7 separate regions of the Homo sapiens genome follow, and all the other regions are linked to region 2. Evidence: promoter capture Hi-C in 16 types of primary human blood cells and fetal thymus (Javierre and others, 2016). All regions are on one chromosome and are shown on one strand. The core of a region is centred on a gene start or on the middle of the fragment in contact, and the rest is flanking DNA. Distances in the headings are between cores, read along the strand shown.

Region 1 (2,848 bases), core at 293-2,792, 530 kb before region 2:
CCACCAGTTTTGCTCCCATAGTTCTTTATTTGTACCCCCCAGTAGTACCCTTCACATTCTACCTTGTATTGCATTTACCTGGGTTCATGCCTTAGCTCCCCTCCTAGACTGGAAATCCTGGAGGATCTGGGCATGTCTGTTCATCCTCATAACCCAGAGTGTCTATTAATATCTCACATCATAGATGTTTGCTAAGTTTGGTTTAATTAAACTAAATGGAATGGAGTTTGTGTTCCAGTAACTGTGGCTCTGAAGCCTGCTTTTTTTAGTCTGTTTTCACTTTTTCTTCCCACAGTTGATTTATCAGCAGCACCCATCAGTTTCGAATGTGGACAGATTCATTTTGATTAAACGGCTTTCTATCACAAACATTTAGAACCAGTACCACAATTTAGCTAACAGTTACATATTTATTACTTAACCTCACTTGGCTTCAGTTTCCTCATCTGGATTTTTAGAAGGGGGAATGGACAAAATGTTTTTCAAAAAAAACACAAATTAATAACTAATGTCCCTTTTGTTATTTTTTCCTACCCATGAAGCCTATGTTTTGAATGATTTGGCCAATCTAACTGCATTTACACATTCAAAGTTTATTATTATCTCTTTAATGAATTCAAGCATAAGTAATTGTTAACAGTTGAATAATGTGTTTTTATCATACTGATGATATAATTTTGGCCCTAATTATGTATTTGTTTATTGAATGCCTACTGGGTATCAGGTTCTGTTCTTGACATTAAGGATAACTGTGAACAGAAGAGTCAACATCCCTGCCCAAGTGGTGCTTACATTCTAGTGAGGGTAAAAACAAAGAAACTTGATTATCATCTATCAAGGTTAAGTAGGTCTGTACAGCACTATTTGATTAATAATTGTGTGACTTAATTTAGGCTTTTTAGAGCTTTGAAATAGCTTGGGTTTCACACTGTCTACTGTGTCTAGGGTCCTTCTTTGTCAAGGACACCAGTGGTTAGAAGCTCTCTGAGATCCCTTCTACCGTGAATGTTTTGCTCATAATTTTCCTGACTATATTAGTTTTCTATTATGGTGTCAAAAATCACAAATTAAGTAGATTAATTAAAAAAAAACATTCATGATCTCATAGTTCTGTGGGTCAGGAGTAGGCTTCACCGGTTTCTCTACTTAGGGGCTCACAAGGCTGAGGCCCAGGTGTGGGCCATCTGGGCTTTTATCTGGAGGCTCTACAGAGAACCCACTTATAAGCTCATTCAGGTTGTTGGCAGTATCCAGTTCCTTGCAGTTGTGGGGCTGAGATCCCTGTTTCCTGACTGGCAGTCAGCCAGGGGCCTCTCTTTTAGCTCCTTAGGGCCACTTACATTCTCAGATAGCTCTCTCTGTCATCAAAGCCAGCAATGGCACAGGGAGCCTTTCTCACACTAAGAATCTCTCTGACTTCTGCTGGCAGCATCAGAAAGCATTCCTGTTTTCAGGGCCTATCTGATTAGATGAGGCCCACCTGGATATTCTCCCTATCTTAAGGTTAACTATGCCATATAATACAACACCATCACAGGACTGAATCTCATCACATGCAGAGGGTCTGGGTAGTTGGATATAACATCTTGGGGGATGATTTTAGAAATTCTGCCTACTGTACTGACCAGTGGAATTTTTCCCTCAAACAGTCATGAAGAGACTCATTGCCACAGATAAGGGTTTTAGAATCATATAACATTATTTTATTTAATGGAATGAAGGTCTTTTAAAAGGGCAGGTTGGGGCGGTGCATGGTGGCTCATGCCTGTAATCCCATCTCTTTGGGAGGCTGAGGCAGGCGGATCACTTGAGATCGGGAGTTTAAGACCAGACTGGCCAACAGGGCGAAACCCCATCTCTATTAAAAATACAAAAATTAGCCGGGCATGGTGGCAGGTGCCTGTATTTCTAGCTACTCAGGAGGCTGAGGCAGTAGAATTACTTGAACCTGGGAAGCAGAGGTTGCAGTGAGCCAAGATCACACCACTGTACTTCAGCCTGGACAGATGAGACTCTGTCTCCGAAAAAAATTAAAATAAAAAAAAAATGCAGGTTGGAATTTTACGAGACTTTTTTTTTTTTTTTTTTTGAGACGGAGTCTCACTCTTGTCACCCAGGCTGGAGTGCAATGGCACAGTCTCAGCTCACTGCAACCTCTGCCTGCCGGGTTCAAGCGATTCTCCTGCTTCAGCCTCCCTAGTAGCTGAGATTACAGGTGCCCACAACCACACCCAGCTAATTTTTGTATTTTTAGTATAAACGGGGTTTCACCATGTTGGTCAGGCCAGTCTCGAACTCCTGACCTCAGTTATCCACCCACCTCGGCCTCCCAAAGTGCTGGGATTATAGGTGTGAGCCACCGCGCCCAGCCCTTTATGAGACTATTTTAAGATTATTTTAATCCCTTTTCCTTTGTGTCTTTTCCTTATAAAACATCATCTCTTTAGGAAGGTAAAAGGTTAATCACAGATATAATGAGCAGCTTCAAGTAAATGAATATTAATTCAATTCACATTAATAATATTCATGAACTGTCATTCATAAAATCTTTTTATGCCTAATCCTTTAAGATACAGGTTAATAAACAATACATTTTGGGGGTCCATTTTTAACTGGCATTCATTAAATTTTAATATTTAACTATTACATCAACAGAATGTAGATCAATAGAATGAGCTGACATCTGAAAGGGTAAAATGATGATAATTGTGCCTATCAAATTTTATGCAGCATTTTCACTTGTGTGGAGTTGAAGAGTAAAGGAACTTAGTTTTGTTTACATTTTCTAATCTGAGTATTGACAATTTGAGATGACAGTTCAATTTTCACTAAGTAATGATTACTTAGA
Region 2 (3,264 bases), core at 197-2,696:
GTTTCTGATACAGAGAGGTGACAAACATTTGTTGAATGACTGGACAATAAATATTATTACTAGCTTGAATCTTGAGGCAAATTACTTAACCTTTCTGAGCTTAGTTTCCTTGTCTACGAAGATTAAAACTAACTTTTCAAGGCTTCCCTACAAATTATATGGATAATGCATGTCATGTGCCCAGCACACAGCAGGTACTTGTTAGTTTCTTTCTCTTTACATACATATATACTACTTTATGGTTTACAAAGTTCTTGTAAGCTCTTCTAGATTCATGACCTCATTTTATTCCCACAATCTTCTGCAGTACTTCTCATTAGCCTCATTTTACAGATGAAAAACAGACTCAAGGATTGAGACATAGCCTCTTCAGGTAATGAGAAGCCAATGGACATGCTTTATAAGCATAGGAGCGACATGATAAAAAGCAGTGAGGTTTTTTGAAGATTAATCTGTTGGCCTATAAAATGGGCTGAACTGAAAATTGGAGAAATATTATTTTGACTACTAGCATAAAAATCAAGTTTAAGGGCCGGGCGCAGTGGCTCACACCTGTAATCCCAGCACTTTGGGAGGCCGAGGCGGGCAGATCACTTGAGGCCAGGAGCAGGAGACAAGCCTGGCCTACATGGCGAAACCCCGTCTCTACTAAAAAATACAAAAAATTGGCCCGGCGTGGGGCTCGTGTGCCTCCCAGCTACTCGGGAGGTTGAGGCACATTTAGAATCGCTTGAACCCGGTAAGCGCAGGTTGGCAGTGAGCCGAGATCGCGCCACTGCACTCCAGCCTGGGCGACAGAGCGAAACTCGGTCAAAAAAAAAAAATCAAGTGTAAGATGATAAGGGCCTGGCAGAAGTGTTTAAAAGCCTAATGAACTTAAAAATATTGAAAAGCCAGATAAGTCCCCCAAAGGAACAAAAATTTAAAAATGGTAGTTTTCAAATCTGGCTGGCTGAGAAAATGATGGTACAAACAACATAAACAATTGAGAAATCAAACTTGGCAAAATCGTTGGTCAGAAGACCTTCTCTCCAATACCTAGGCAGAACTTCTGGCAAATAATGACAAACATCTGAGCCATTTCTTCAGTGTCATAGCGACTTTTTGCTTTCACTCCTCCCACTGGCTTCACCACCTGGACAAGAGCATGTTAAGGTCCTTCTGATCTTGCTTCCTAGATGCAGTACGGTGGGAAGCAGAATCTGGGTAGTGTGGAATTAGAAACCAAGCTTTCGAAGTTCCAGGACTTGGACTAAATCGCCTTTTTCCTTCTCTGTCAAATAAGGGGACCCTTACTTCACCTCCTTCCCTAGTTTTAAGACTAGACACCCTCTCCACATCAGCACAAAGCGCTTTTATTTAGGCGCGTGCCGCCAAACCAAAGGCGCTCGCGCCGAGCTAAGCTCCTGTCGGTGAGCTTACGTCACTTCCGGCGCGCTGACGCTCAGTTGTGCGTGCCGACGCCCGCGTCAGCAAAGAGCGGAGCTGAGGGTACCCGGTTTGAAGTCGTGCGGGTCGGAGGACTGCCGCCTCCGCTACCGTCTTGGACCCCTGCTTACCGGCCGCCGCGGGGACGAGCTCGGGTAGGCGGCAGGGCAGATGCCCGAGGGCCTGCGCTGGAACGCCCCACGCCGCACCGGCCGCTCCCCTGTGCTCCGCGGCCTGGGCCTGCGCCGCTCAGCTCTCTGGAAACTAGCGCCTCAGCTGCGCGGCGCGTAGGTCGCGGGGAGCTCCGAACCGCCGGCGCCCGGCCATGGCGGTCTCCAGGTGGGTCTTGCTCCTGACGAGCAAACTGGAAGGCGATTCAGGGAAGGCATGGTCTCCTCTTAGAGCCCCCACTCCTAGAGAAGAGCGGTTCTCATTGTCACTGGGCTCTGGAGCTTTCTTCAGTAGACTTCGGAGTTCGCCCCGTGGTCGGCGGGGGTTTGGGCTCGGGTTACTCCTGGGTAAATCGGTTCAATAATGCCTTTTTCTTGTTAATAGACCCCTTGGCACGTTAGAGCTGTTTTTTCTCTTTCCTCACCATGTTTCTGTTCTCTGGTTTCTCTTCCCTCTTTCGATTCTAGGGGAGTCTCTTATCTTTCTCAGTATTCTAAGGCTGGTCCCTAACCTCCATTTCATGGGAAAACTTGGTAGTTACTGTCGATGGAGGGGAAACCTGAATTACTATTATCTAAGAGACCGTCTAATTATGTTACCAGTTTTAATTTACGTTTTTAGGGGTATGTTCTTTCCTGAGATGTTTTTTAAAATTAAGTATAATTTCTCCTTTTGTTTGGCAGTAAACATTCCAACGTCAGCGTTGTAACCTTAAGCCAATTATCGTATTAGCATCATTTTCCGTAACTAAGGCGTGGAAGATAAATCACAGATCTTATATTCTTTTGAAATATTGCCTGTCAACAGGAAAGCCCAGGAAAACTATAGAAAAACTAACGACATTTATTTGTATAGCTATAGGAGAAACATTACTTTTTCCTCCGGTATGATAGAATGGTTGGAAAGCTTTTGTAAGCGGAATTTGGTGACCCTCTGTACATGTAATTAAGGGATAGTTCCTCTGTGATAGTGATCGGATGGATTCACCAAGTTCCTTAGAGTTGATATGGTAACTTTTAATGAGAATTGGATTCTTTTACCATATAGACTGAAGGAATAAATGATGAAAACAAATAGTTTTCATTTTTTTATAATTAACTGAACACATTCTTTGAGCGTATTAAGTGCACAAGTTTTATCTGTTTTGCAAGGGAAAGGATAACCCATTCCTTACAGACTCCCTAGATGACTGATGAAATAGTGTGTGGGAGAAGCCCATGGGAGTTGGGTGAAGGGGGTTGCTAGGTACCGTAGTATGGGGCATCTGATTTTTATTTTATAATCTATTCAATGTGAGGAAATTTTTTTTTAAATAAAACTGCCTTGAGAGAATACAAGTGACATTTTACATTTTTGCAAATATAGAAAGGTGTATCTTCTAATTTGTTACCTCCCATATAAATGCATGAATATATACATTGTAAATGCATTGATATGTAAACTTAATATAACATTTATCAGGTAATAGTGTTTAAGGAGATGAGTACTTCTTTTCTTAGAGCAACCTGTGCATTTTCACAGGATTGGATGTAGCTTTATAAAGACAAAATGAAAGTGTTTAAAAAGAACCTAATTTTCGGGCAACGCTAATCTCTTTTTTTTTTTTTGAGAAGGAATCTGGCTCTGTAGCCCAGGCTGGAGTGCAGTGGCGAGATCTCGGCTCAC
Region 3 (2,937 bases), core at 379-2,878, 640 kb before region 2:
GAAATTGCTTTGAAACAAACAAGCTAACCTTTGAAACTTAGGAAAAAATCTTGAAAGTTAGGAAAAATATTTGAGAAATATGACGAGCACAATCTGTGTGTTACACACATTTAGTTTTTATACTGCATATGTGGTAAATGTGTCACATTTTCCAGTAAAATGTATCAGAAATCAATGCCTTCTGAATTTCAAAATGATTCTTAGAAATAAGATATTGTACAACTCTAGCAAACATACAAAGTACAGCTAAATCTTAATATATTTCACTATGTAAAAGGCTGAAACTTCATAATTATCTGTTCCTTCTATCTTTTTTTGAGTCAAAAAGTCTATTAAATTTTTCTGTTGTTGTTCCAACTTTGGTGAAAAAGGTTATGGCAATACTTTAACTTTGTTTTGTTACATTGTTTTTGTTCTTGGAATGGCTCACAAGCAGAATTTAAAAGGCAGATTTTCATTAACTATAAATGGCTGAAAAAACTGAATTTACTATCTAGCTACAGAAATTATTTTTCTATGGTGTGAAACTGTTCCCAGACATCCCTAAGAACTTTTACAAATTATTATAAATTTGTCACACCTAGGTCAGCGATTAAAATAGTGTTTTGCAAATGGAATTTTAATTAACTCAAAATGAATTAAGAGTGCATTTTAAAAATCACAAGTGAGACTTTGATGTTTTGGCCCCCCAGCCAAAACTTAATGGTCATAAATGAATTTTATCTACAAAATCTCTTTAAATTTGGCTGGTTGCCTTGTCATATGTAATTTCACTATTTTCCAAGGAAATATATAGGAAGCAATTATGAAACTGAGAATAGTTTTATATAGAATTCTTTTATTTACTGATAATGCATTAACATTTTTATTGAAATGCAATGGAATATGTGCCAAAACACGTGAAAAGCTTACATAAAGAAAGGCATCAGTTGTCGTTTGGAGAAAGGTACACATTTTTTTGATGGTCCTAAGTGATATGGTATTACTACTAGAATCACAGATTTCTTCAACTGACTTATTTTGGTATATTCAACTACAGCTTTCTAAGGATAGGACTACTTTCATGTCTAGTAATACACTGTATTCCCCGTTAATTATCCCTTAAGTCAGATTGTAGAATTTGCAAGAAACTAGGTATAGAAAAAATGTACAGGCAACTTTTGTGGTTAGCTTTATAAATTTAGGGTGCTTATAAAATGATAAAATGAATTCTTTAAATAACCTATAGGAATCATCTGAATCTGTAACATCAGAGACTAAAACTAAAAGTTTTCTTTAATCTGTTGTTTCTTAAGCAATAAACTGAAAGACCTTTACTTCCATAAAAGATTTTGTTATCTCTTTTATCTGCCTTAGAAATTATAAGTATAAAAGGGTCAAGGGAACTTAGATATAAAGAATGACTGTGGTTTATAAACATTACTTTAATTGAAGTAATCACATCAGTTAATAGAGAAATCAAAATATGTATGGCCTTTTCTCTAGATTAGCAAAACAGCTTTACAAAGTATGAAAAAATAAACTAAAATGCTCATTGATGAGGTAATACTCAGTCTGGAGTACAGGTAACTTGGGTAATGCCTTTTAACTACTCTTAGAGGAGTATATTATTTCTTTATACATTAAACATCTATCCCATAGTAATGTGCCACATTTTATAAACGTAATGACTTTGCTCAACTACATTACACACTCAAATGTAATCTAAATTTAAACTGATTATTTAAGGAAAAAAAGTGTGTTATATAATATTGTGAACTGTTTAGCTTTACTGAAATATTTAAGAGAAAGTGCCTCATTACTAAAGTGCATTTCTGTTTTAAATTTACTGCATAAAGTTTGAGTTATCTGTACCTGTCTCTTATGAATGGTTTCATATCTAAATAGGCTCTTGTAAGTTAATTTTTTTGGAAGATTTTCATAAGAATATAGATATCACCAAAGACATTTTACAGTAAATTAATAACCATGTTGGAGAGACGGTTTTAACAGTTTGGAGGTTGGAAATTTTTAGATTGCAATTTAATTTTATATAGTTAGGCAATAACCTTGATTAATTGCTAAAATATCACCAAAGAAAGGCTTTAAACTGAATTTTCTTGGTGAGATCAGTCAAATGCAGGCTTTTCTTGCAATAATCAGAACACACTTCCTTTCAAATATGTTCATTGTTTTTCAGCATCATCTAACAGATCTTAGTAAATCTAAATCCTCAAAGATGAGAAAGAGGTAAACACAACAAATAGCCTTCCTCTGCATGAAAAGTGAGAGAAATACATACTTTGAAAAGAAAGTTCAGATTTTTAATTTGAGAGGGTTTTTATTTCATGGAGGCAGTGTTAACTAAAATTAAGCTTAGATTTAGCTCCTGTATTATTCATAATATGAGAAATTTTATTAAAGGCAGACTTTGGTAAAAGTGCCAACACACTTACTTGTATAGAAAAGACTTCATTCTATGGGATTTATATAAGTAAGTGCTTTCTCTATATTCAAAATATTTCATAAGGACCTGTGGTTTTTTTCCCCTTAAAAAGCAACTCTAGGCCGGGCACAGTGGCTCATGCCTGTAATCCCAGCACTTTGGGAGGCCAAGGCAGGTGGATCACTTGAGGTCAGGAGTTCGAGACCAGCTGGTTAACATGGTGAAACCCCATCTCTACTAAAAATACAAAAATTAGCCAGGTGTGGTGGCACGCGCCTGTAATCCCAGCTACATGGGAGGTTGAGGCAGGAGAATCTCTTGAACCCAGGAGGTGGAGGTTGCAGTGAGCCGCAATTACACCACTGCACTCCAGCCTGGGTGACACAGCGAGTCTCCATCTCCAAAAAAAATTCAACTCTTGGTCTTGTTTCTCAGCACTTAGTTTATTGTTATTAGAATTTAGCCATACAGCCAACTTTGACAAAATGGGTCACAGAACAAGCATGTACATC
Region 4 (3,133 bases), core at 241-2,740, 620 kb before region 2:
ATGGTGGTTTCCTCTACCTGGGAGCCTGGCAGCCCCACCAGGCCCTACAGGATTACATCTGTTGACTGCACTCAGTTTTACTTCATTGCAGGTGGTGTTTCTTTCCCTTGGTAGAGTTCTTTCACTAACACCCCTGTGAGTCTTGTCAGATGTGATTAAACTCTGGGCAACACAAATGGAATGAAAAGAGGGAGGTGGAATTGTTTTTTTTTTTTTTTTTTAACGTGAGATAACTGACAGGTAAGACTTGAGATGAACCGGGGGGTTAAAGAAGGGTATGCGTGCCTCTGGGTGCTTTGCTATCTATGTGCTCACACATAAGAAGGAGTATGTGTAATGTACTGAGGAAGAGACCTTGGGAAGCCCGACCTGGGCAGGAGCCCCTGGAAAGTGGGGGAGGGGAAGGCAGCCGTGGCTGCAAAATTGAGGCACACAGTTTCCCATCACGGCCTCCAGAGGGCGCCATCAGCCCGCAGTGGTTCTTTGCCTTTTGAGGGCGGGCAGAAGGAAGAGGATCCACCTGGAGGATGGGTAACGAGAGCTGCAACCCACTTCCTTCAGGGCTGGGGCATGCAAGAACGAGGAGTGGACCGCTCGCAGTGCTTGAATGTCCTCCTTGTTAACCCCAGCTGGGATAAGCACCTCCGCCTCATAAGATCAAAGCTCTTTCATTCCTGCTTTAACTTTGCCAGTTCCCTTTACTTCGGAAAGAATGAGAAACCTCATCCTAGCAATCCCAGGGATCTGTGCCCTCCAGAGGAAGATCTCTGCAAAGCTGTTTACAGCGGGTTGTTTGGAGGCCAGCTTCTCTGGCACGGCGCGGTGTCCCCGTGGAGCGTTTCCAGGGCGCGGAGGCCCTGGGTCACCAACTCGAATGAATAGTGAGTGAGCTGATTGCCGCTCCACGCTGATGGATGTATATTTGTTACATTTGAAGTGTTCTGAGAAAAGAACTGCTTCTGAAAAGAAGAGCTTTGTGTGAGCACAGTGAACATGAAGGGCGAGATTCCAAAACCTTTAGGAGGGTTTTCTTTCTATGCAAGAATGAGCCACAGAAAGCTGTTCCCAGCATCCTCTGCTAATCTAGGAACACCTATGGAAAAGCGTTGTCCCGGTCTCAATCCCAGGGATGGGAATCAGGAAGCACAGAAGCTGCCATCAGAGCCCAGGGCTGGCTCTGTCATTGCCCCTTGGGTGACCTGCCGGCAAACCGCTAGAGAGCCGAGCCTCAGTTTTCTCATCTGTAAAATGAGAGCCCGGTTGTAGGGTACCCAAGTTCCCTCCCAGGTCTGGCACTTCCTGAGGGTCCTATTGTTCACCATAGAGCTAATAATGCTAGTTCTCAATTGTTTTGTTCTTGGGACCCCTTCACAAATCTTAAAAGTACTGAGCCTCCCCCCACCCCATGGATCTGTGGGGGCTTCTTTTGCTATTTGGCAGTCAGTACTAATCAAACTAACTGACATAGAAGAATTTTAGCTTATACTTCATGTGTCTAAGGCTCTCTCCAAGGGCCTTCTCTCTGCCCTATCATGTTTACATTTGTCTTGGTTGATGTAAGGCACTGATTATGGCCTCTGGATGCACATTGGAATCACCTGTAGAGCTGAGACATAACCTCAGACCAATTCCCAGAGATTCTCATCTAGTTGGTCTCTGCTAGGGTAGTGGGGAGGGGGCTACCAGGTGATTTTTAATGTGTAGCCAGGCTTGAGAAGGGCCACTCTGATAGCTCTGTGGTTCTCAAAGTCAGCCGGCAGCATCAGTATTACCTGGGAACTTGTTAGAAATGCAAATTCTCAGGCCTGCCAAGGACCTACTAGGGCAGAGCCCAGGAATCTGTTTTAACAAGCCTTCCAGGTGATTTGAATACATGCTACAGTTTGAGACCCAGTGTTCTCAATTGCCACACCTCCACAGCTTCCACTCCCACCTTCACCATCACCTCCATCAACTAAGTAAGCCCATGAAAATGTTTCAGGTTCCCATCTTCCAAGGTGCAGCTGTCTGTGTTTGCAGTGGTGACAGGGGCTTGGGTGACTGTGGCATCATTTGCATGTGAGAAGCTGCTGGGCTCTTCAGCAAGAATGAACCAAAGGTCACTAAATGCCACACACATATTCCATTCAGCAAATATTTATTGCATAAATATTTATTGAGGTACCAGCCTACTGCTGAGGGCATCACCTTACAGAATGCTTGCTGCATAGGAGATGCTTCAGAAATGCTGGCTGATGAAACCTCAAGGCCTTTTTGCAGCCATTCATGCTGCCTAAGAATTATGCATCCTGTTTACTCTGTCCTTACCTTCGACACATGGAAGCTCTAATCCTTGGGAATCCTGAAAAGCAAGGGTCCCTCTGGCACAGCAACCAAAAAGAAAATCACAACCACACCTAGCCTGTGCTAGCCTTGCCAATGATATTGCTTTTGCAAAGAATGGAAAATATTTGCAAATGGTTGAATGTTGAATCATGGGTTCTATGACATTAATGTTTATAAAATTCCATTTTACTATGGAAACAATAGGCTAATTGTTAGAGTGGATGGAGATCTATAGGATTGTCTCCTCCACACTCACATACTTGTTTTTCTAGAAACTGCCACCTTTCCCATCCGTATTTCTCACAGGAGCTCTCTCTCTCTTTCTCTCTCTCTCTCTGTATATAGTACATGACCCATCAACCTAACTGGCACTCAATCCAAAGTGGGCTACTGACTCTTGACTCCTTTGGTTAGAATTTTTTGGACTTGACACTGAGCAATCTCCCTATGGTGACTGAAGCTGGAAGGTTCAGTATTAGGGTTCTCCATAGATATGGGACCAATAGTGTGTGTGTGTGTGTGTGTGTGTGTGTGTGTGTGTGTGTCTACAGAGAGAGAGAGAGGGAAGATAGAAGATAGATAGATAGATAGATAGATAGATAGATAGATAGATAGATAAAAAGGAATTTATTAGGGGAATTGGCTAAGACAGGTTGTCTGCGAGCTGGAGACCCTGGGATGCTGGTAGCATGGCTCAGTCTAAGTTCAAAGGCCTTGGAACTAGGGAAGCAGGTGGTGTAATTCTCAGTCCGAAGCTGAAGGCCTGAGAACTTGGGGTGGGGTGGAGGAGTGTGGTAAGTTTTAGAGC
Region 5 (3,252 bases), core at 181-2,680, 550 kb before region 2:
CTTCCTGGTTTAGTCTTGGAAGGGTGTATGTGTCCAGGAATTTATCCATTTCTTCTAGATTTTCTAGTTTATTTGCGTAGAGGTTTTTATAGTATTCTCTGATGGTAGTTTGTATTTCTGTGGGATCAGTGGTGATATCCCCTTTATCATTTTTTATTGCATCTATTTGATTCTTCTCTCTTTTCTTCATTAGTCTTGCTAGCGGTCTATCAATTTTGTTGATCTTTTCAAAAAACCAGCTCCTGGATTCGTTGATTTTTTGAAAGGCCTTTGACAAAATTCAACAGCCCTTCATGCTAAAAACTCTAAATAAATTAGGTATTGATGGGATGTATCTCAAAATAATAGAGCTATTTATGATAAACCCACAGCCAATATCATACCGAATGGGAAAAACTGGAAGTATTCCCTTTGACAACTGGCACAAGACAGGGATGCCCTCTCTCACCACTCCTATTCAACATAGTGTTGGAAGTTCTGGCCAGGGCAATCAGGCAGGAGAAGGAAATAAAGGGTATTCGATTAGGAAAAGAGGAAGGCAAATTGTCCCTGTTTGCAGATGACATGATTTTATATCTAGAAAACCCCATCATTTCAGCCCCAAATCCTCTTAAGCTGCTAAGCAACTTCAGCAAAGTCTCAGGATACAAAATCAATGTGCAAAAATCACAAGCATTCTTATACACCAATAACAGAAAAACAGAGAGCCAAATCATGAGTGAACTCCCATTCACAATTGCTTCAAAGAGAATAAAATGCCTAGGAATCCAACTTACAAGGGATGTGAAGGACCTCTTCAAAGAGAACTACAAACTATTGCTCAATGAAATAAAAGAGGATACAAAGAAATGGAAGAACATTCTATGCTCATGGGTAGGAAGAATCAATATCATGAAAATGGCCATACTGCCCAAGGTAATTTATAGATTCAATGCCATCCCCATCAAGCTACCAATGACTTTCTTCACAGAATTGGAAAAAACTACTTTAAAGTTCATATGGAACCAAAAAACAGCCCGCATCGCTAAGTCAATCCTAAGCCAAAAGAACAAAGCTGGAGGCATCACGCTACCTGACTTCAAACTATACTACAAGGCTACAGTAACAAAAACAGCATGGTACTGGTACCAAAACAGAGATATAGATCAATGGAACAGAACAGAGCCCTCGGAAATAATGCCACATATCTACAACTATCTGATCTTTGACAAACCTGAGAAAAACAAGCAATGGGGAAAGGATTCCCTATTTAATAAATGGTGCTGGGAAAACTGGCTAGCCATATGTAGAAAGTTGAAACTGGATCCCTTCCTTACACCTTATACAAAAATCAATTCAAGATGGATTAAAGACTTAAACGTTAGACCTAAAACCATAAAAACCCTAGAAGAAAACCTAGGCAGTACCATTCAGGACATAGGCATGGGCAAGGACTTCATGTCTAAAACACCAAAAGCAATGGCAACAAAAGCCAAAATTGACAAATGGGATCTAATTAAACTAAAGAGCGTCTGCACAGCAAAAGAAACTACCATCAGAGTGAACAGGCAACCTACAAAATGGGAGAAAATTTTCACAACCTACTCATCTGACAAAGGGCTAATATCCAGAATCTACAATGAACTCAAACAAATTTACAAGAAAAAAACAAACAACCCCATCAAAAAGTGGGCAAAGGACATGAACAGACACTTCTCAAAAGAAGACATTTATGCAGCCAAAAAACACATGTAAAAATGCTCACCATCACTGGCTATCGGAGAAATGCAAATCAAAACCACAATGAGATATCATCTCACACCAGTTAGAATGGCGATCATTAAAAAGTCAGGAAACAACAGGTGCTGGAGAGGATGTGGAGAAAAAGGAACAGTTTTACACTGTTGGTGAGACTGTAAACTAGTTCAACCATTGTGGAAGTCAGTGTGGCAATTCCTCAAGGATCTAGAACTAGAAATACCATTTGACCCAGCCATCCCATTACTGGGTATATACCCAAAGGATTATAAATCATGCTGCTATAAAGACATGTGCACACGTATGTTTATTGTGGCACTATTCACAATAGCAAAGACTTGGAACCAACCCAAATGTCCAACAATGATAGATTGGATTAAGAAAATGTGGCACATATACACCATGGAATACTATGCAGCCATAAAAAATGATGAGTTCATGTCCTTTGTAGGGACATGAATGGAGCTGGAAACCATCATTCTCAGCAAACTATCGTTAGGACAAAAAAACCAAACACCGCATGTTCTCACTCATAGGTGGGAATTGAACAATGAGAACACTTGGACACAGGAAGGGGAACATCACACACCGGGGCCTGTTGTGGGGTGGGTGGAGGGGGAGGGATAGCATCAGGAGATATACCTAATGTAAATGAGTTAATGGGTGCAGCACACCAACATGGCACATGTATACATATGTAACAAACCTGCATGTTGTGCACATGTACCCTAAAACTTAAAGTATAATAAAAAAAAGAAATTCATGTGTGTCAGTATCCTCACAGACTACTACATAGGGTGAATGATTGCCAACTGCAATCCAATTAAACTACAGTGTGATTTTAGGCAAGTAACTTCATCTCAGTGGGCTTCAGTTTCCAAATCCATAAAGTGAGCACTAGTTCATTTCTAAGGTGGTTAAAAATCCTCAATAGTTCAAAGGCTTATCTTTGTTGTGGACAATCAGAAATAATTATCCAGGATAAGACACATGTCTTTTTGCTTTACTTTGTCACCAAAATCTAATATTGTATAGCCAGCTTAAGGTTCTTGAATGACCTCAGATTTTGAGAGCTCACATTCAGCACAACAGTTTAATCTCATTTCAAGTTCCCCAATATATAGACGATTTCAAGTAATTGTGTATACTGTTAACCCCAGTGATTTTTTTCTAAGAGCCAAATTAAATAATAAAATAATATTATGTCACTATTCAAGACACTCCTATTGTCTTTATAGGCCACAGCAGTCATCTCCAAGACTTTGATTATTTATCTGGTTATTTATCCTTGTCATAAAAAAAGATGAACGTGCAACTCCTGTGTTTTTTCTGTTGATAAATAATGTGCATGGATAACCAGAATGAAATAGTGATACATAATAAAACATAAAAACAGAAATGTTTAAAGAATGAGCTAATTGTGAAATAAAATAATGTTATCTTAAAGTGATTTTGGAAAAAGAAGCTTTTGGCTCATAAAATAATATCTTGATCTTTTAAAAGAGATTTTAAAAT
Region 6 (2,834 bases), core at 104-2,603, 580 kb before region 2:
ATACAGTTAAGGTTATACTTTTTATTGAAATTAAGAACTTAAGCAAAATCAGAATCAGTTATTAAAATAAGCCTTGGAACTCACATCGCTGGTAAGTGGTTGAGTTGGGCCTTTAAGCCACATCTTCTGATTCAAAATACTATTTATACCATTTTATTCTAGGGATACCATGAAGCCTATAGCACCTCCTTCTCAATTTAGTATGTTCCATTTAGCCTAGAGAAAAGACTGAAGGTTGTTGCAACTACATATACTTTATATTTCTTTCTAAGTGTCACAATTGAGTACAATTAGAGTTCAATTTCTCTTTATAATGGATGTTCCCAGAGGGTAAACAGAAAGAATGTATGCATTCTTTAAGCAAAGCTTTATTTTTCTCTATGAATCAGCATGCAAAATCCCCTAGCAACATTTGACTTTAATACTTATGGAAATCAGATTGGTCTCCCTTGTTAGAGTGGGCATCTTGATGGCCCGTGTTATTTCCTCTATGTGGGGTTCCAGCTGTGTTGTCAGCCAGCAGTACCACTTCCTGAGGGCTGAAGAACATCTTTCTGAAAGCATTGCCCTAAAGCTGCTGCTGCCACTCCTACCATGCTCCAAATCATCAGCTTTCTAATGTGCCCTGTGAACCCTAGGCAAAGGGACAAAAAACATTATTTTAGACTTCAGTTCAGTTGGGAATCAGAAGTTGTATGGAGCCATTAAGTGGAGGCATTCAACGTATTCACACAATAACTGTTTGAACACCTATTATGTGCTCACATTGTGCTAGGCACTGGGGATCTGCTAACAAGAGACACAATCCCTATCCTCATTGTAGCTCACAGATTAGGCTGGCAAATTGACATTTAAAAAATACTGTAACTACACAAGTAACTCAGCCTCTCTTTTCATCTCTTGCTAACCTTGATGCAGGACACAGCATCTCTCTCCTTTCCAGTAAATAAATAGACAATCTGTTCTGCACCAAAAGTATTAATGAACTGCATAGATGTTGACCAAGATTTTGTGTAGGAGTTTCCTACACAAAATCTTATAAAATCTCCCATACAAATCCTATGGGAAACTCCCACACAAAATCTTACAAAATCTCCTATACAAATTCTATGGAAAACTCCTACACAAAATCTTACAAAATCTCCCATACAAATCCTATAGGAAGCTCCTACACAAAATCTCCTATACAAATCCTATAGGAAACTCCCATGCAAAATCTCAGCCTGACATCCTCAGTTCTCTTTGGAAGTATCTGGTCTCCAAGCTGGATTCTTCTTTGCCCTGGACCTGTTTCCTGACCTTGTGGTCTTGTGTCTCCCTATTCTGTTTTTACCCCCTGGAAATTTTGTTTTCCTGTAGCGCCACCCTGTTCCGTTCCTGGTGAGCAGTTCATCTCTGCCTGGGAGTTCACCTCCAGCCTTGCACACTTCAGGGGCCCTCCAGCAGCTGGAACCCACCTCCTCATTAGATGGTGTGTGTGTTTTGGGGGTGCGGAGTATAAATAACATGGAAATCAGGTTGTGCTGCACTTAAATAGGGAGTAATTATAATTGTGTTTATTTGATAGAGGGAGGCACAGGTGCCAGGAGACTGAGTAAGAAGTGAGCCTGTGAGACAGCTGCTTGCCAGCCGCATCAGGCCCTGGCCCCTGAGTCAGCCTGTGTCTAATTAGGAGCAGGCTGCAATCGCCATCTGAATAATTCTCTGGGATTGAGTTTCTTCCTGAATGACTCGATTCACACTGGATGAGAAACTGTCTCTCTCCACTAGGAAGTGGAATAAAACAACTGACTCACATTTCACGCTTCCGTTTTTGCCAAGTGGAGATGATAATTTCTCAGTTACTCAGATGTGGGCTAGAGCTGAATCTGCTTTTTATAACTGACTGACTTAGCAAGGAAGTGAAAATCCAGGTACTGAGATGGAGCAGGGACCCCTTTTAGGGGTCTCTGGGTCCCCAAGCATGGAAATAAAGGAAAATCTTGAGCTCCTTCAAGGGAAATTCCAGATGCCTAGCTAGCCCTGAAAGTGAATAAGCAGCTTGATAAACAAGAAGGTAATGGTAGCCTGAAACAATAGCCAAGGAACTGAGAGTCCCGAGATGTTTGGTTCCCTATAGAAACTAAAGATAACATCTTAACATATGTACCCGAGTTATTTTTCAGAAACCTGGACCTCCAACAAATGGATACACTGGCACATAGACCTCAGATAATGTAGAACTGAGGACTGAATTCTGATAACCATTCTTTGTTCTAAATTTCTTCCTGAGTGTCCTGGAGGAAGTCACACCCATGAGCCAGAGCTAACATTCTTTCTGCTGACCTTAAATTTTTAAACAAAGCTTCTCTTCCTTAACCAATTGTAAAAGAGAAAATCTTTGAACCTGCCTATGACCTGTAAGCTCCTGCTTCAAGATCCCCCACCCTTTCAGGCCAAAACCCATGTGTAGCCTCCATGTATTGATTTATGATCTTGCCTGTAACTTCTGCTTTCCTGAAATTTACCCCTGCTTTTAAAAACCCTTACTTGCAAGCCATTGGGAAGTCAGGACATAAGCATTAGCTGCCAATTCTCCTTTCTTGGTGCCCTGCAAATAAATACCTTCCTTTCTTGCCACTTCAAACCTCAGTGTGGATGTCTGGCCTTACTGTGCCAGGCCAGTGGACCCCACTTTGGTTCTATAACAGTATCACAAAGCCAAGGGAGCCATAATGAGTCAAGTTCTGGGTCCTAGACTCCACATCAAGTCTTGGAGTGGGATTATTCCTCAACCAGGTGGTCTGGTCTCACTCTAGACAAGGCCTATGGAGGTCCTGTGGATTCAGAAGACC
Region 7 (3,250 bases), core at 41-2,540, 650 kb after region 2:
CCAGCCCTCACTCCAACCTTTCTGCCATTCCTTCCAAAGCCAGCCTACCCCCCCATCTCTGGCCCCACACACTACCCATACTACCCATCTTCTGACCCTCATCAACACACCCTTGTAGCTATCTCAATTCCCGTGGCATCCCAATCCGCTCCAATCAAGTCAAAGTTCCTTGGAAGGCAGACACATACTTTACATAGAGGGTCCAGCACAGTGCCCTGCACTTAGTAGGTGCTGGCTATTACTGATTAAAACCAGCAGGGGTTCAAATAACGTTTCTAGGGAGGGCAAGATAATACTGCCTATCTTCTTCCATTCGTAGTAAAAAGTATTCAGCGTTCACTACAAGCCTGAAAACGCCTAGCGTACGCAGATCAACGGTGCAGTGGAGAGGGCACGCCGCCGGATGGCAAAAAACCTGTGTCCTAATCCTGGTTTTGCCACAATCTCGGCAGTTGCTGGGAAATCAAGCCATCTCTCGGAGCTCCGGTTGTCTCCGACGTAAAACAAGGGAGCTGCTGTAGAGGATCCCGAGGTATCTTTTGGCTCCTAAATGTCCCCCGATAGGAAACCCCACACTCGTCTTCCAAGGCGGGAGGCAGGCAAACTTTTTTCCCAGCGCGGGCATTCCACACGGTCCTGGAAACTCAGTGCCCGGAGAAAAGGGCAGGGCTGAGGGCAAGGTGAGAAGCGGTCCCCCCGAAGTCGCCGGATTCCTTTACCCCACGGCTCGAGTCCGCCTCAGGTTCCCGGCCCCCTCACAGGCGGACTCCGGGAGAGTGACGCGGCGCGGCTCCCAGGTGCAGGCCGGGTGACTCTGTCCGCCCCTGCGCCCCCCGCACTAGTGGCACACGCCCCGTGGCCCCGGGTAGCGGCCCCGGCCCCTCACCAGCCCAAGGGACGTCCCCGACTCTGGACCAGGCCTCTGGCTCCCGCCTGGCGAGCCGCTCTTCCGGGCCCTGGGGCGGCCTCAGCGCGGCAGTACGGGCCCCAGGCCGGCGGGACGGGCGGCGTGAGGGGCAGCGGTGGCGGCTTTAAGTGCTGAATCACCACTTTGCAACCCGAGCGCCAAACCGCTGTGACCCACGGGGCCCGAGGGCCCGGGCGCTCCATTCCGCTTACCCACACAGGCGCTCCGGAGGCGGCAGGCGGGCGCCGAGGACTGAGCGGAAGGTGCTGGGCAGTGCGGGGTGCAGAAGCCACGCTAGCCGGTACCGCATTAGCCAGCGCAGTCGCCGGGATCACCGCAAACGCTTCCTGCTTGCGCTTCGAGCCGGCCCTGCGCACTGCGCATGCTCTAGCCGCGGCGCCGCGCGGTCTCCCGGGAGCTGCGGAGAGGTAGCTGCTCCGGGTTTTGCCTGGAGCCGGATGGGGCCAGGACGCAGGCGAGGACGGTGAAGACCGCGGACAGCCGAGGCCTGAGCAGGCGGACTGGAGGGACAGGGGTTTGGCCGGGGCGCTTTAGGAGCCAGCACCCAGACTTTCCCAGGCGGGGAGGGTCCCAGCTAGATCCCACCGGCCGCACTTGTGAGGGTGGCGACGTGTGTCTGACTGTGAGGGGGCGAGGGGCCGCTCATAAATCCAGTGAGGGCACACGGGGCTATGTTTTCTGAGGCACCCCCACTGACTAGCGTGCCGGACCCTGCAGGTGTTGGAACAAGGTTCGTGGTCGCGGCGGCCTCACGTAAAATGAATCCGCGGCCGGCGCGCGGCCCGCGGGCTCCCTCTAGAGCGCGGTGGGGACGTGGACCGCGAAGGCACAGATGCGCTGGAGACAAGGCTCGAGTGCGGCGTGGGGGAAATTCAGACGCAGGGGTCAGCGATAGAGAGGCCAGGACCCAGGGGGACGTTTCCATCCTTGGGGAAGTTAGCAGCTCTCTTAAGAGGAAGGTGCGGATGGGACGGGCGCCGCAGCAAAACAAGGCTTCAAATCCAGAGTAGAAACTACTACTCTTGTTAGTACTCCGTACTAGGAATACTACTAATGTCAGTCGGCTTCAGTGGTTACTTTTTAAACAAAGAATTTTCTCCCCAGTGGCTTTATGGGGCTTTGCACCCACGAACAACTTAATAGTTGTTATGAATCTAACTTTCCATAATACCTTATGGGAGTCTTTAAGGAAGAATGCTATTAGGGATGGTGACTTGCCAGCTTAAGTACTTTTAGGTTTCTGATTGACAGACGATCAAGACTGCAGCCAAAAACGGTGTCCTTAGTCCAAGTATTGCTTTAAATGGGAATTCAGTAGGAGGGTTCCTTAATCAAGTTGATGCTTTATCGAAGACGTACCCACGATCTTTTTAACAGTGCGGTTTCACCTAAAGGCAAACCTTTGGATGAAAACAGGTAAAAATTATGGCAAGCCTCCTAGTGGTGTTTGCAAGTGCATGGTTTTAAGAACCTTTAAATTACCAGTCCCAATGCAGAGTAGTCAATCACCTTGAAGCAGCTCCTCTGAGAGTGTTAATGCAGCCTTTCTGAATACATTTATGCTCCATTAATGGAATCTATAAATGGGCTGGGGTAGATTCAGACTTGGAGGGCTTGAAACATATACAATTTGGGGGACCTCTTTGAGACATAAAATACAAATTATAAATACAAAATTAGCAATCAGAAGATTACTATAGAGAGAAAATACATCACAACAAATACTCGAGACTTGGAGATTAGTACCCTTTTTTTTCCTGAGATCTCTTTAGGCTACTTATTAGAAATGCTTACATAAAAATGCTTCCAGATGGCCGGGCGTGGTGGCTCATGCCTGTAATCCCAGCACTTTGGGAGGCCAAGCCGGGCGGATAACGAGATCAGGAGTTCGAGACCAGCCTGACCAAAATGGTGAAACCCCGTGTCTACTAAAAATACAAAAATTAGCCAGGCGTGGTGGCATGCGTCTGTAATCCCAGCTACTGAGGAGGCTGAGGCAGGAGAATCACTTGAACCCTGGAGGCGGAGGTTGCAGTGAGCCAAGATCACGCCACTGCACTCCAGCCTGGGCAACAAAATGAGACTCTATGTCTCAAAAAAAAAAAAAATGCTTCCAGACAACAACTGGCTTTCCCTCTACAACTCCCAGTTTGGAGCCTGTGCAAGTGAGCAGCCCTGAAGTTTAAACTTCATTAGCTTCATGATAAATTTCCCTCTGGTTGGAGTAGATGTCCTGGATAAGAAAGATTAATATTAATATAGTCTCATAACTATCATCTCAATAAAGAGGAGGTGGATGGAAAGAAAAGTAACAATTTTGAG

The links. The method cuts DNA at HindIII sites, captures the fragments that hold promoters and counts their contacts. A CHiCAGO score of 5 or more calls a contact.
Region 1: a fragment that was not itself captured here is called in contact with the fragment with the promoter of BTAF1 in region 2 in 10 of 17 cell types (total CD4 T cells, total B cells, naive CD4 T cells and 7 more); the score reaches 13.8 in total CD4 T cells.
Region 3: a contact is called between a fragment that was not itself captured here and the fragment with the promoter of BTAF1 in region 2, in 3 of 17 cell types (total CD4 T cells, fetal thymus and activated CD4 T cells). The highest score is 7.3, in total CD4 T cells.
Region 4: a contact is called between a fragment that was not itself captured here and the fragment with the promoter of BTAF1 in region 2, in 8 of 17 cell types (fetal thymus, total CD8 T cells, non-activated CD4 T cells and 5 more). The highest score is 12.6, in fetal thymus.
Region 5: a fragment that was not itself captured here is called in contact with the fragment with the promoter of BTAF1 in region 2 in 2 of 17 cell types (total CD4 T cells and naive CD8 T cells); the score reaches 5.2 in total CD4 T cells.
Region 6: a fragment that was not itself captured here is called in contact with the fragment with the promoter of BTAF1 in region 2 in 1 of 17 cell types (endothelial precursors); the score reaches 5.5 in endothelial precursors.
Region 7: a contact is called between the fragment with the promoter of IDE here and the fragment with the promoter of BTAF1 in region 2, in 3 of 17 cell types (erythroblasts, fetal thymus and naive CD8 T cells). The highest score is 8.1, in erythroblasts.

What each region holds. Positions count from the first base shown.
Region 1 is chr10:91,390,831-91,393,678 of GRCh38, forward strand. All of the region lies in intron 3 of HECTD2-AS1 (HECTD2 antisense RNA 1), which reads right to left. Among named protein-coding and RNA genes, the nearest start is that of HECTD2, 18 kb to the right of the region's middle. The HindIII fragment of the contact is 9,163 bases long and covers 1-2,848 here.
Region 2 is chr10:91,922,324-91,925,587 of GRCh38, forward strand. It overlaps BTAF1 (B-TFIID TATA-box binding protein associated factor 1), which reads left to right and starts at 1,447. Exons shown (of 38, transcript NM_003972.3): 1 at 1,447-1,767. The coding sequence starts at 1,754. RefSeq lists enhancers at 189-722, 1,070-1,179, 1,790-1,989 and a silencer at 1,430-1,729. The HindIII fragment of the contact is 1,276 bases long and covers 1,228-2,503 here.
Region 3 is chr10:91,279,658-91,282,594 of GRCh38, forward strand. It overlaps PCGF5 (polycomb group ring finger 5), which reads left to right. Exons shown (of 10, transcript NM_032373.5): 10 at 1-2,937. Among named protein-coding and RNA genes, the nearest start is that of PCGF5, 60 kb to the left of the region's middle. The HindIII fragment of the contact is 1,447 bases long and covers 906-2,352 here.
Region 4 is chr10:91,297,974-91,301,106 of GRCh38, forward strand. No RefSeq gene overlaps it. Among named protein-coding and RNA genes, the nearest start is that of PCGF5, 79 kb to the left of the region's middle. The HindIII fragment of the contact is 3,876 bases long and covers 1-3,133 here.
Region 5 is chr10:91,370,742-91,373,993 of GRCh38, forward strand. All of the region lies in intron 3 of HECTD2-AS1 (HECTD2 antisense RNA 1), which reads right to left. Among named protein-coding and RNA genes, the nearest start is that of HECTD2, 38 kb to the right of the region's middle. The HindIII fragment of the contact is 3,540 bases long and covers 1-3,200 here.
Region 6 is chr10:91,339,430-91,342,263 of GRCh38, forward strand. The region is part of intron 4 of HECTD2-AS1 (HECTD2 antisense RNA 1); the gene reads right to left. Among named protein-coding and RNA genes, the nearest start is that of HECTD2, 69 kb to the right of the region's middle. The HindIII fragment of the contact is 1,978 bases long and covers 365-2,342 here.
Region 7 is chr10:92,572,803-92,576,052 of GRCh38, forward strand. IDE (insulin degrading enzyme) reads right to left here and starts at 1,291. Exons shown (of 25, transcript NM_004969.4): 1 at 1,120-1,291. The coding sequence starts at 1,217. RefSeq lists a silencer at 691-1,140 and enhancers at 1,641-1,700, 1,711-1,950. The HindIII fragment of the contact is 22,211 bases long and covers 1-3,250 here.